2 separate regions of the Homo sapiens genome follow, and region 2 is linked to region 1. Evidence: promoter capture Hi-C in 16 types of primary human blood cells and fetal thymus (Javierre and others, 2016). All regions are on one chromosome and are shown on one strand. The core of a region is centred on a gene start or on the middle of the fragment in contact, and the rest is flanking DNA. Distances in the headings are between cores, read along the strand shown. Region 1 holds the start of ZNF222 (zinc finger protein 222). Region 2 has its middle 19 kb from the start of ZNF582.

Region 1 (7,506 bases), core at 1,474-3,973:
GAAATGAAACAACACATTCTTAAATAATCTACATGTCAGACTAAATTAAAAGTAAAATTAGAAATATCTGGAGAGAGCTAAAAATAAAAGCAATGTGTCAAAATTGGTGGGATGAGAAAAAAAGCAGTAATAGGTGTGAAATTTGTACCTGTAAATACTTAAATTAAAAAAGAAGAAATATCTCAAATTCACAACCCTATTTTACATTCATGAACTACAAAAAAGAATCTGAATAAGAAAGCTAGTGGAAGGAAGGAAATAATAAACATTAAAGCAATGATACATAGAGAATAGAAAAACCAAGAAAATCAATGAAACCAAGAGTTGGTTATTTTCATAAGAAAATTATGAAAACTTCAGTGAGATTGAATAAAAAATGAAGACAGAAGGCTCAAGAAACTAAATCAGAAACAAGAGGGGACATTATTACCAATTTTTACAGAAATAAAGATGATTGTAATAGAATACTATATACAATTGTATGCCAAGAATTTGTATAACTAGATGAAATAGACAAATTCCTTAAAGCATACACCTTACCAAATCTGAATTATGAAGACAAAAAAATCTGAGTAGACCTCTAACTAGTAAGGAGATTGAATCAGTAATCCAAAACCTCCCAATGTAGAAAAGCCCAGGATCAGATGGCTTCACTGGCAAACGCTTCAACACATTTAAGGAACATTTAACACCATAGCTGCTCAACCTCTTCCCAAAAATGCAAGAAGAGAGAACACTTCTTTGATCCTTCTGTCAGGTCAGTATTACCCTGATGCCAAACCAGAAAAAGACAATTCAATAAAATTATACACCAATATCCCTTATGAATACTGATGCAAGAATTCACCAGCAAAATACCAGCAAGATCCAGCAGCATATTAAAAGGATTACACTTAGTGACCGAACTGTTTTATTCCTGGAAGGCGAATATAATTATGGTTCAACATACAAATATCAATGTAATACTCCACATGAGCAGAGTGGAAGGTATAAATCACATCATGTCAGTGAATGCAGAACATTCAGTTTCACAAAATTCAGCACCTAGCACCTTTTCATGATTGAAATACCAAATAACTAGAAGGAGAATAAACTACCCCAGCAAAATAAAGGCTATATATGGAAATTCTCAGAGCTGATTGTCATACTCAATGGTGAAGGACTGAAAGCTTTTCTTCTAATATCAGGAACACAATGAGTTTTCTCCACTTTTCCCACATTTAGTCAATGTAGTATTGGAAGTTCTATGCAGAACAATTAGATAGAAAAAGAAAATAAAGCTATTAAAATTGGAAACAGAGGTAAAATTGTCTATATGCTAATGACATGTTCTTATATATAAAAATTCTAAAGAATTCACAAGAAAAAAAAACTCTTAGAGCTAGTAAAGTCAGAAAGTTGCAGGAAAAATATCTACATAGAAGAAGCAGTTGTATTTCTATACAAAAACAATTAATCTGAAAAGGAAAATAGTTCCCTTTGCAATAGCATTAAATAAATAAATTACTTAGGAACTGTCTTAACCAATGACAAGAAACACTTGGACACTGAATTTTGCAACATCTTACTAAAGAAAATTAAAGAAGGCACCCCAGGCATGGTGGCTTATGCCTGTAATCCCAGCACTTTGTGAGGCCCAGGCAGGCGAATAACTTGAGGCCAGGAGTTCGAGATCAGCCTGGCCAACCTGGTGAAACCCCTGTCTTCACTAAAAATACAAAAATTGGCCAGGTATGGTGGTACGTGCCTGTAATCCCAGCTACTTGGGAGGCTGAGGCAGGAGAATCGCTTGAACTCAGGAGGCGGAGGTTGCAGTGAGCCAAGATTGTGCCACTGCACTCCAGCTTGGGCGACAGAGTGAGACTCTGTCTCAAAAAAAAAAAAAAAAAAATTAAAGAAGGCGCAAATAAATGGAGATATATCCATTATTAATGGATTGGGCGACTTGATATTGCAAGGCTGTCAATACCTATATCTATAGATTCAATGCAATCCTTAATCACAGTAACATTTTTCTCAGAAATGAAAAAATCCACCTGAGATTCATGTGAAATATCAAGGGACACTCTCTCCCATGGTCATATTTTAGACCTCGTCATTTTCTAGCAAATATTCCTCCATAATAATTTGCAGCACTACTCTCCAACAACTTTGACTTGTATTTCCACCTTGGTCCCACCAGCATGCTAGCATCAGTAATATTAGAACCTCGCCAATACCTACAGTCCACTGAGACGATCACCTTTTTACTCTTTCAACTCCTCGTGTACTCACAGCCTGCCAAGCACATTTCTTGTCAGGAGAGGACAGCTCACTTCTCCTAATGTCTCACTTCCCAAAATTGTGTCCCATGAAAATTTCTAGCTAGATGAAGGCAGAGAAAGAAAATATTTGATTTCTTAGGCTTTATGGAAGCGATAGGAATGGCAATAGTGGTTTGGAATGGAGACTGCACGCACCAGTCAACAGGGTGTGTCCCGAATAAGCAGTGGGTAAAGGACATTTACTGAAATGCTATCTCCAACTCCACTTCAGGAAAGCTTGCTGCAGAGTTAGAGTGATATAGTCCAAATGCTCTGTTTGAGTCGCGGGCCCTTTGTCTCACACGGGCGAGTCCGGGGAATTCTGGGAAGTGGAGTCCACACGCTCTGTGGAGGCTCGAGCACTTCCGGTCCCCAACTGTGACGTTGCTATTTCATTTACCACAGTAGTTTGAGTCATTTCCACATCTTGCGAGTCCTTCCGAACGAGTCTCCTTTCCTTGGGGCTCGCAACCACCCAATGATCGATTCAGGAGAAAAGAAGCCTGGGCGGAGAGCAGAGGTTTGGAGGGGCGCGGGCGGGGATTGCCGTTCCAGTCAGCTGAGCCTTCTGGCGTCGGGGGGCTCTGCTAGGGTCTCAGGGAGTGGGATTGGCGCGGCCCGGTGTGCCCTACTTTGACCTCGCTTAGTCCGCCTCCCTCCTCCCTACGTGTGCAGCCCCTTTCAGTGTGGTGTGGAGTGTCACTTAATGTCCGTTTATCTTCCATTGCTGGTTCGTTTGTTTGTTTGTTTTGTAACGGGACTTTTCGGACCATCCTAATGGATTCATTTTGGGACCTGAAAGAGGTAACACAAATGAGAGCCTTAAAAGCAGTCCCTGTCACTCGGTGTCTGGTGGTCTCTTGTTAATTTCCCACGAAGCCTGTCAGGTCCTCTGGTGGGGTCAGAGCTCCAGCTGCAGGGGCGCCGGCCCTTCTGCCTGATCCCTGCAGGACGCTGGATGATCCCTGACGCCTTCTGACCTCTTTTTAGGAAAGTGAGGGGAGCATTTAACTTTTATGGGGGACGGCAAAACGGTCAGGGTGTTTCACAGCTTTCTTTTTCCCCAGCCCGACCTTTCTAAAAGAGCTGCAGGAAGGGACTTCTTGGCTACTGATGGCAAAGCTCTACGTGAGTGATCCTTGGCTTTTTTTCTTTGACAGAGATGCTTACCTCAACCGAGAGTGTGTAGGATTTGTCCCTCGGGCATGGGTGTCGATAATGATTAAGCCTTAATTGGTAACTTTATTCCAAGTACTTTATACCCCAAAATACATGATCTTCACAGTGGCACTGTGGAGAGGTGCTGCTTTTTTCATTTTAAAGATGGGCGTGAGACACAGGTGGAGCAGGAGTTGAAACCTAGGCAGTCCAGGTTAGAGCCTGAGTTGATCATCTCTTGAATGCAATTCTCATTGAGGCAGAGGTACTAGCTGGGAACAGGTGGAGAACGTAAGTTAGGACTTGATTGAAGGCACCTTGAGGCAAGGCTCAGGGGCTTGGACTTCTATAGGAGTTTTTGTTTGTTTGCTTTTTGCTTTTTAATTTTTTTAACCTTATCTACTATTTTCTTTCTCTCTCTCTCTCTATATATATATATATTTTTTTTTTTACAGAGTTTCGCTCTTGTTGCTTAGGCTGGAGTGCAGTGGTGCAATCTTGGCTCACTGTAACCTCCGCCTCTCGGGTTCAAGTGATTCTCCTGCCTCAGTCTCATTTTCGTCAAAGGGCCCGCGACTCAAACAGAGCATTTGGACTATATCACTCTAACTCTGCAGCAAGCTTTCCTGAAGTGGAGTTAGAGATAGCATCTCAGTAAATGTCCTTTACCCACTATTTATTCAGGACACACCCTGTTGACTGGTGTGTGCAGTCTCCATTCCAAACCCCTATTGCCTAATCAGTCATTGTCAGGACACAAACAGAATAAGTAGGAAATCTATAAGCTGACCTATGTCTCTCAAGATCCAAAACAACTTTACACTTGTCCCTTGTGCCAGTGCAATGCTGCTGTCTCCCAATAGTCTTTGGCCGTAAGATTGAGGTGACATCTGCTTGATGTTGTAGGAGGCAGTGACCTTCAAGGATGTGGCTGTGATCTTCACTGAGGAGGAGCTGGGGCTGCTGGACCCTGCCCAGAGGAAGCTGTACCGAGATGTGATGCTTGAGAACTTCAGGAACCTGCTCTCAGTGGGTGAGGACGGGCACCCCCTGTAATGGAATGTCAGGCCCCAGGAGTGGTTTTTTAATCCTAGGGTTTTCAAGTTTGAGTGTGCAGTGAGAACCTACATTTCCAGTAAATTTTGCCTGGCTATTAGGTTGGTGCAAAAGTAATTGTGGTTTTTGTCATTGGAAGTAATGGTACACTGCAATTACGTTTGCACCAACATGATATTACCTTGAACATGTTGGGATTAAGCATGTGACTTTGCCTGTTCACAGGGCATCAACCATTCCATGGAGATACTTTCCACTTCCTAAGGGAAGAAAAGTTTTGGGTGATGGGGACAACAAGCCAAAGAGAAGGGAATTTGGGTAAGAACCAAGCAATTGTGTGTCCCTGCATGTGATTCCTGTTACTTCTGTCCATGCCCATTTCCAGCATTTTGGGGTAAATGGCCAAACCTGTTTCCTGGATTATTACAGCCTTCTCCCTGCTGATGCCCCTGCTCCCACCCTTCCCACCCTGCCATCTGTTCTTACGGTAGCCAAAGTGATCCGTAGGAAACGGAAGTCACATTGCCATTCCTCAGCTCAAAGCCTTTCTGGCTTCTTGTTTTTATTAGTGTTACAACCTCTTTAAGTGGCTTTTGTAGACCCTGTGATCTGCCCTTCATCCCACACTGTCTGACTGCATCTCCTGTCCTCTCCCCCTTGCTCCATCTTTTCCAGGCACCTTGTCCTCCCTGCTGTTTCTCTATCCTGCCAAGGACATTGTATTGCCTATTGTGGCCGGTGACATAAAACTCAGCAGACTGAACAAGAAACACTTATCTTTCTCTTCTGTAGGCCTGAAGTCTGACACATCTCACTGGGCAAAAATCAAGTGGTCTTAGGGCTTTGTTCCTTTCTGGATGTTCATGGGGAGAAGACTTCATTTTGGTTTACCAGTCTCTAGTCACTGTCCACACTCCGTGGCTCTTGTTTCCCTTCCTCCATCTTCAAAAGCAGCTACATTGCATCCCTGACCATTCTTCCATAGTCATGCTTCCTCTGCCACTCTTCTTATGCCTTCCTCTTTCACCTTTCAGGTCCCTTGTGATAGTATTCATCACTCCTGGATGATTCAGGATGACCCTCCCACTTTCTGCTTAGCTGGCTAGTGACCTCAATGGCATCTGTAGCTTTAATCTCCCTTGCTGTGGAACATAACGTGTTCATAGGTTCTGAGGACTGGATGTAGACATCTTTCAGGAATGATTATTTTCTCTACTACAAAAGCTTCTGCCTCCGAGCCCTCACTTGCTCTTCTCTCTGATTGGAATACACTGTCCCCACAAAACTTACTGACCCCTCTTTTAGTTTATGCAGCTCTCTGCTCAGTTTTAATATCATGGGAGAGGTCGTCTCCAAGCACCTTATTGAAAATACTATCCTATCTTTACTCTTCTTGGCCTGCCTGTGTTGTGTCTCATGTATTTTTGTCTACTGATAAGTCGCCCCTCCCCTTTGCAATGTAATCTCTTGAAGGCATTTATCTGTTTCTTTATGACTGCATCTTCAGCACCTAGAATACTCCTGGTACATGGCAGTTATCTGTAAATATTTGGTATTCTTATGAATGAATTAATGGATGAGAGGACTTGACTGTCTGTAAGAATCATGGAGATAGCTAATAAGTAACAGACATACAAGAGTGAATGTTATATAGTCATGCCTTGGTAGCCGTGGGGTTTGATTCCAGGACCCCCTTGTGGATACCAAAAGCCAAGGATGCTCAAGTCCCTTCTACATGTAAAGTATTTGTGTATATCCTACACACACCCTTTCATATACTTTAAGTCATGTCTATATTAGGTATAACACCAAACGCAATGCCTACCCATCGCTTTATTCACATGGATTCAATGTATAGGACTCAATGTGAGAAATTCAAGTTTTGCTTTGTGGAACTCTGTGGAATTTTTTTTTTCCAAATACTTCTGATGCACTGTTGGTTGAATCCATGTATGCTGAACCCACAGATATAGAGGCTGACTATATGTTGCAGGACAGTTGTTGGTTTGTTTTGTTTTGTTTTTTTTTTTTTTTTTTTTTTTGTCTGTGCAGGGCTGCTTATCCAATTTTGACTTTCTTAGGTTCTCTTGACATGGTTGGTTTTCTGTGTGTGCAGTTGACCCACATCCCATGGAAACTTTCAAGCATGGTTTTCATGACCACATTGAGAAACATGCCTTCCCTGGGGCTTACCCTTGAGCTTTCCTTAAGGACCGTGTTTATGTCTGTGAGAAATTCTTTATATCTATGAGCTGAATGTTGCTTATATTTCCAAATGTTTTTCTTCAAAAAATGTGTCTATTTCTGCATCTTTATACAAATTTAATTGTCAAAAATGTGAAGGAATATAGATTTTACTGAAATCTTTCTTTATATTTATAGAGATATAGTGTTGTATTTTCATCTGGTGAACTTTATGACCTGAAAGGAATTGGGAAACTGCTCTCAAAATAGAAACCTCCCGAAGGATACTCTCCCTTCTCTTTAAAGACTTATTTATACGTGACAGCATATTAAATATATCCATGTACTACTGTGTACTGAAAGGTACATACTTATCAATTAATATTTTCCAAGATTCTTTCCATTGGAAAAACTTGGAAGTTATCTTTCCATTGGAAAAATGTACCTAATTCAGGACTTGGTAATATCCTGACAAAGTTCTAAACATTTTGTGAGCATTAGCCATAGTAAGAAACATATCTGTCAGTGTAACACGGACAAACATTTTTCATGTGTGTAGATGTGTGTGAGTGGCTTTAGTAAGCAATTCATGTAATGACATTTTTCCTGCTTGTCATAATGCTGCAATAATTTTCATTCTAGTTCTTGTTTTGTAAATGTTTATTGCAGGTTTTAACTTTATTTCAGCTCATTGAGGCATAGTCTTGAGTATAAAAAGTTATAAAGCCTGTTTACCTCATAGACTTTCTTTTCATTCCACGTGTTTCTGAACAACTTTGATTGTCTGATCAGGAGCATCCCCCTT
Region 2 (7,506 bases), core at 1,316-3,815, about 12 Mb after region 1:
AGGATCACTTCAGCCCAGCATTTCAGCACCATAGTGCAGCACGATCACACCTGTGAATAGCCACTGCATTCCAGCCTGGGCAACATAACAAGACTGCTGTCTCTTAAAAGAAAGAAAATACTGGCATTTGAAGAATATCAAGAAAAAATATTCATTTAAAATATTGTAGTCTGCCTCATTTATGGTGACAGAATTCAGGATAGCAAGAGGTGTGTCTTGAAGCAATCTTGGGGAATCTTGGAGGTGTTGGTAATATTCAGTTTCTTGATCGGGGATCTGCTGATGGGTGTATTGCGTTGTGAAAATTGATCCTATTGGACATGAATTCATCATATTGATCATGGCTTACTGCAGCCTCAACCTCCTAGATTCAAGCAGTCCTCCTGTCTCAGACTCCTGAGTAGCTGGGACTATAGGCATGTGCCACCATGCCTGGCTAATTTTTTTATTTTTTTGTAGAGACTAAGTCTTGCTGTGTTGCCCAGGCTTGTCTTGAACTCCTGGCCTGAAGCAGTCCTCCTGCCTTGGCCTCCCAAAGTGCTGGTGTGGCAGGCCATGTCTCACCAAATGCAGGTGTCCATAACAGCTGTTTCAGTACTGACTGAGTGGTTAAATATTAAAAGCCACTACCCTTACAAAGAGGCTGGAATGTAACAAAAGCCCACCAACAGTTTTGCCTCGGCCTTTCCTGGGCCTTAAAGCATGACAAAATAATGAAGGAGTTCTTAACTGGACCCATTTAGGATGAAACAAGTTTTACTGGGGGTCTGAAGAAACCCCCCACGCCTCCACAAACAAATTTATTGGAGGTCTGAAGGAAATCCCCAAACCACCGTGGTTTAGCAGGAGACAAGATAAGGGTAATCACTCCAGCACCCTACACCCATTTAGATTAAGTAAATTTGCTGAGGCTCCTGAGGAAGGTCTTCAAGACTCAGACCTTGGTTATAGATTAAAAGAAGTTAATCACTTGTCTTTAGATGAATGCACACCTACACATAGACATATAGCTTAGAAGGTATATAAGCTCTGGAAAACTTTGTAATTGTGAGTTGGTCTGGCAGTAATTTCCAGGCCTTCTCCCTGTAACCGGCTACAGAAATAAAAACTCCCTTCCTCCCCAGTTAATCTGCATCTCGTTATTGGGCCTCAATAAATAGCAGCCTGACCCTCAGCTTGGTCCAGGAACACTGGGATTATAGGCATGAGCCACTGCACCCAGAGATCCTTAAGATTTCTTAAACCCCACATTCAAGTGAGAAAAGAGGAACCTTCTCTGCCCCATGTTTAATACAATTAAGTTTCAATAGCTTTTGACCTATGTACTGTTGTTACAGATGGTGCAAGGGTGTATTTGGAAAGGACAACACAGGGCAGCTGTATATGATTGGAGTGATTGGGAATCATAGTTGTATTATGAGTTGATGAAGTCCCAGGATATTGGAAAGGAAAACTAACCATAGGCTGGGCATCCTCAGTTCTTCCCACCTTCTTCCTAAGTAGCTGAGGATGAAACCTTATTCTTTGCTCCTGTTGCACAGCCTGATGGAGGCAAATAAGGTGAAATAATAACACATCTGCTGCAGTTTTCAGACCATTACATCTACTACCCTAAAATGTAGCTGCTAGAGCAAAGACTACTTTATTTCCTATGATTCTATGGGTGAGGAATTCACACTGAACTCAACAGGGTGGGAATGATTAATCTCTGATCCTATGATGCCTGCCAGGGCCTGAATCCCCAAGATGTCTTCTTCATTCATGTATTTTATATTTAGCTAGAATTGCTGGAGTCATGTATCTGGGCCACTGTTCTTTGCTGCTAGCTGAGTTACTCAGCTTTACTTGATGTAGTCTCAGAATGTCTCACTCTCCATTGGCAACGTCTCATTGTCTTTTCTTATGTGTCATGAGCCCCTATGAGGGCAAAACAGAAGATGCCAAGCCTTCCTGAAGCTTTCATCTGGAACTAGTTAGTGTTAGTTCTGTCATATTCTGTTGATTAAAGCAAATTGTAGGTCCGATCCAGATTTAAAGAAAGAGGACTACACTTTGTTTCAGCAAAAAAGTAATTTGTAAGTTATTCTGATACACTACAGATCCATGGTAGAATTGATCATGACTGGCTTTCAACAAAGTCAATGTGTGGTCATACTATGAATATGTAAGATTATAAAATCAACTATGCTAGTTCCTTTACAAATTGGTTTTGAATACGTGGATACACAATCTCTGAGCAATACATTTCTTAAATTATTCAGTGTTTTTTGAATCACCCTGTTCATCTTGAATGTTTCCCTTATTAAGTATTTTTCTATACCCAAATTTTAATAAACACTATTTCACAGTATTGCTCTTTAGTAACTTAAATAAGCTGCTTTTATAAGACAAAGAGTCCTTATCAGCTCCTCCCAACTTCCAGTTATTTCCTTGGGCTCTTCTAAGGAAGTGTTTATCATTTTCAGGGATGAGTGACATTCCAAGATGTGGCCATTGACTTCTCCAAGGAAGAGTGGGGATTCCTGAACCCTGCTCAGAGAGATTTGTACACAACTGTGATGCTGGAGAATTATCAGAACCTGGTCTGGCTGGGTAAGTGCTTAAAGCCCTTAATTCAGCAACTGGTCTTGAGTATTTCTTTTTTTGTTTTTATACTGGGAGTCTTTGGTGAGATTCAGAATTTACATGAGATGTGGAAATTGGAGTGAGCAGCTTTCTTTATCCTATCTGCCAGATGTTCTAATGTTTTTGTTTTTATAATGGCTTGTGTTTCGATTACAGTGTTGATCTGTCACAATACCTGAGTAACCAGAGCATAGCCAACTCTTTCTATTCACAGGACTTTCCATTTCTAAATCTGTGATTTCACTGTTGGAGAAAAGGAAACTGCCTTGGATAATGGCAAAAGAAGAGATAAGAGGCCCATTGCCAGGTGAGTATGAAGAACCAACTAGCGGGGGTAAGCCATGTATATGAAAGGCATACCAGGTCTAGAGGGCAAAGCACCTTTAAGATGTGAAAGATGCTCTCTTCCAATGTTCCATACGTATGTAGAAATTGAGGCTCCTTGAGTTTGAGTTCCTAAAAGGGTACTGATCACCCACCATTTATATCTGCTTTTATAAATGCCTGTGGGCTCAGAAATTACAGGTGTGTCTTTCCTCTTTGTCTATGGTAAGCTTCCTTTTAAATTCAGGATCCTGTTTCTCATGACTTTTTTTTTATTTGACTCTTTGATATTGTTTTCTTTACTGTAAGATGACTTATATAGTGGTCTGATTGTTTGAATGGGTGTATTCATTGGTCATTTATTCATTAACATTAATTCCATTTTTAAAACTAGTCAACTGTTGAGAGTCCCCAAGACCACCCCCAGGTTCAAGGACTTACTAGGAGTCGTCACAGGAGTCATCATATCATTGTATTCATGCCTGCAAAGTTAGTGAATAGTCCAGAAGAACACCATCATTCTGATGCCAGCTGCAAAGTATGGGGGTCCCCAAGACCACCCTGAATTCTGACACGAATTGCAAATCCAAAGGTCCCCAAGATGACCCTCAGGTTTGATAATTCACTAGAAGGATTCACAGAACTCACTGAAAGCTGTTACACTCATGGTTAGAGTTTATTGCCATGAAAGGATACACATTAAAAATCAGCCGAGGAAAAAGACATGGGGCAGAGTCTCGGAGGACTTCCATTTATGCCCCCACAGTGGAGTCATGGACAGTGTTAACTCCTCCCAACAATGATGTGTGGCAGTATGCACAGTGTGTGGCCAACCAAGGAAGCCTATCTGACCCTTGTTATCCAGACTCCTCATTAGGGCACCATCATGTAGACATGGCTGACTGCTAATGTCTCACCTCAATCTCTAGCTCCTCTGAAGGTCACCCTAATATCATGTGACCCAAAGCCCCACATAAATCACATAGTTTGATTATCTGGTGTGGTCCAACGCCCATAGGTAAATAGAGACACTTTTATCTTGCAGGATATTTCAAGGTGTCAGAGATGACCATCTCCCAGGAGCCAAAGGCAAAGACTAGAACTCTCTTTGGAAAAGGTTAAATTATTTACTACACAATGGCTAAGATTTATTTTAGCAAAAGATATAAAACAAAATCAGCAAAGGTAAGCTCATAAGGCAAAGTCTGGAGGAAATCAGGAATGTGCTTCCGAGATTCCTCTCCCAGGGGAGTCACACAGGAGGTACTTAATTCCTCTAGCAGCAACTTGTGTGGTATGTGTGAGATAATAGCAGCTAGACAACATTAGACTTAGTGCCAAGGAATTTACTTAGGGAAGCCATAAAGGTACCCTCTGCCGAGTATATGCTAAAAATCCAGAATCTCAGAAGGAAAGTAGGTGTTCCGCATAAACCACATCATCTGCACAAATAGCTTAGGCACAGTAAGCCACTTGTACCAGTTCCGGGAATGGTAGAAACCCTCATGAAATCCAAGTTCCTTAGAGGTCAGTCAGGGGCCAACGTTGTAAGCACACCTTTCTAAGGAGAACAGTCTCAAAGCCTGCTGTGTTCTTTTCTGAGTTTGTTTAAAAGTATAGAAACTTGCAGTGAGTTTACATTTGAGTGAGGGGATTAAGACTTGCTTCCACAAACCTTGTGCAAAGTAGAAACTAATTAACTAGTAGAAACTAATTAAAATGGTTTATTTTGATGTGTGGGAGTTAGTAAAGTTTTAGTTTCAAAACTGGGTGATATTTAAAGTTATAGAAAGTGAGGAAATGAAGTACATTTGTGATATATTTATTTAAGGAATTGTTGGAATTAAGGTATGTCTTGAACTGTGAGTTACAAATATGTAGCTGGATCTCAATAGTAATTCAGAATTGGAGATGAATGTGTTTTTTATATGTTTTGTGGTGATGGACCCTTAGGAATGGAAGAAATGAATTGCCTATAGATAGCAGAGAAGGACTGATTGATTGGTAGCAAGAGAAACAGGAAACATCCTGTGTTAGAATTCCAGGGCCTCACTATTCATGAAGAAAAGGTAACCAAAGTAAGACCAAGACGTTAGGATAAGACAACGTTGAAAGGTAGTTTATATCTGACTAATTTATGGTTCTTGCTAAAGTGGATATTTCTATGGTGAAAAGGATGTAGAATAATGAGCTTGAATCGTCACATTTGGTAATAATCTTTTATTTGAGTTCATTTTCAAAACCATTAGGCCTTCGTAGTAGAGGCCCCCTGTAAAACCAGCCCCTCTTGCACCCTTAATGAGGTTAGCCCTCTCCACTGTCTACATACACAGTATAATCTGGAAAAAACAGTGGGATTCCCACATGTTTAGTGCATGAAAAACAGGCCAGACTCAGTCATTTTCCATAATTGACCGGGGTTCTGTTCTGTTCTTTTACAGCAAGCACAGCCAGCATCTCTGCCCCTCTGCCCTTTAGCTCCTAAACAGTAAAAACAACTACAGGTTAGAAGGGTATTATGTTCGTCTTTGTAGCAAGTCCTATTGCCTTTCTTTAATTTTTGATCCTGTTGATCAGTCTTCCTGTAATGCCATTTTGGCCCCTGCAATTCCCCATAGTACATGTTTTCTTAAGCTCTAAATCTGTTTCCTTGCTGCCTTCACTTGACCCTCTTATTTTTCCTGTTTGCTTAGCGATCTCTTTAATCTCAAAATGTCTATATCAGTGAGAATTCATACCCTATCTGCCCCTGATTATATGATTGATTTTATTGTTTCTATATTATGTCAAATTGTTTCTGCAGTAAAATAATTGGAGATGCCTTCTGTCTGGACACATTAATTCCTCTGGTTAATGCATACATATACATACAGAAACTATCATTTACCTTTTTGTGTTTTGAAACTTGTGGTATAACTTAGCACACTGCATCTTGTCCTTTTCACTTAATACATTATCCTGCAGCTCAGAAAACAGCTGAAGTTCACTCTTTTTTTAGTAGCTAAGTAATACTACAGATAGAGATATACCATGGTTAATGATGAGGGACCCCTAGTTTGTTTCCAATATAAAGCCTATTTCAATAAGCATTCTTATCAATATAACCTTAAAAACTGGTATCTTAGTTTCTTGAGTAGGTGCCTAAAGTGGGATTGAAAAGATAAAAGATAGGTATATTACATTAGTTTAATTTGCTTCTGTTCATTGATTTTTTTTCCCCTTTCAGATGTGCCAGGTGCAGAGATTAAGGAGTTATCTGCAAAGAGGGCTATTAATGAAGTATTATCGCAGTTTGACACAGTGATAAAATGTACAAGAAACGTATGTAAGGAATGTGGAAATCTATACTGCCACAATATGCAGCTTACTCTCCATAAGAGAAATCATACACAAAAGAAATGCAATCAGTGTTTAGATTGTGGGAAATACTTCACTCGTCAATCAACTCTCATTCAGCATCAAAGAATCCACACGGGAGAGAGACCCTATAAATGTAACGAATGTATTAAAACCTTCAACCAGAGGGCACACCTTACCTAGCATGAGAGAATTCACACTGGTGAGAAACCTTACAAATGTAAGGAATGCAGGAAAACCTTCAGCCAGATGACTCATCTCACACAGCATCAGACTACACATACGAGAGAAAAGTTCCATGAATGCAGTGAATGTGGAAAGGCCTTCAGCCGTGTCTCAGCTCTTATAGATCACCAGCGAATTCATAGTGGAGAAAAGCCGTATGAATGTAAGGAGTGTGGAAGAGCCTTCACTCAAAGTGCCCAGCTCATTAGACATCAGAAAACTCATTCTGGAGAAAAACCCTATGAGTGTAGTAAGTGTAAGAAATCTTTTGTGCACCTGTCTTCCCTGATTGAACATTGGAGAATTCACACTGGAGAAAAACCATATCAATGTAAGGACTGCAAAAAGACCTTTTGTCGTGTGATGCAGTTCACTCTGCACAGGAGAATTCATACTGGTGAAAAACCCTATGAATGCAAGGAATGTGGAAAGTCCTTCAGCGCCCATTCTTCTCTTGTTACTCATAAGAGAACACACAGTGGAGAAAAACCGTATAAATGCAAGGAATGTGGAAAAGCCTTCAGTGCGCACTCTTCCCTTGTTACTCATAAGAGAACACACAGTGGAGAGAAACCCTATACATGCCATGCCTGTGGGAAGGCCTTTAATACTTCCTCCACACTTTGTCAACATAATAGAATTCATACTGGTGAAAAACCCTTTCAGTGCAGTCAATGCGGGAAGTCCTTTAGCTGCAGCTCTCACCTTACTCGACACTGTAGAATGTGTAATGGAAAATTTAGCAAATAACCAAAACTCAAAATGTTAATTCTGATTATTCTGTATCATCACCAGTACTTTGTACTTTGAGTCTTTTTAAATATGCTCTGTTAGTTTGTATGGAATGATATTTCATTGCACTTTTAATTTAACTTAAAAATGCCTTCCCTTGACTGTTGATATGTATTTTTTGTGAAGTGTGTGTTGAAGCCTTGCAGATTATTTTTTAAATTAGAGGTTTATCACTAGGTATAT

The links. The method cuts DNA at HindIII sites, captures the fragments that hold promoters and counts their contacts. A CHiCAGO score of 5 or more calls a contact.
Region 2: a contact is called between a fragment that was not itself captured here and the fragment with the promoter of ZNF222 in region 1, in 1 of 17 cell types (total CD4 T cells). The highest score is 6.1, in total CD4 T cells.

The regions. Positions count from the first base shown.
Region 1 is chr19:44,022,656-44,030,161 of GRCh38, forward strand. It overlaps ZNF222 (zinc finger protein 222), which reads left to right and starts at 2,724. Exons shown (of 4, transcript NM_001129996.2): 1 at 2,724-2,823; 2 at 4,368-4,494; 3 at 4,743-4,835. The coding sequence starts at 2,782. ZNF222-DT (ZNF222 divergent transcript) reads right to left here and starts at 2,627. Exons shown (of 3, transcript NR_184028.1): 1 at 2,460-2,627; 2 at 2,243-2,364; 3 at 1-1,244. RefSeq lists enhancers at 2,690-2,739, 2,970-3,019. The HindIII fragment of the contact is 1,542 bases long and covers 2,539-4,080 here.
Region 2 is chr19:56,370,692-56,378,197 of GRCh38, forward strand. It overlaps the pseudogene ZNF542P. Among named protein-coding and RNA genes, the nearest start is that of ZNF582, 19 kb to the right of the region's middle. RefSeq lists an enhancer at 6,306-7,505. The HindIII fragment of the contact is 1,223 bases long and covers 1,955-3,177 here.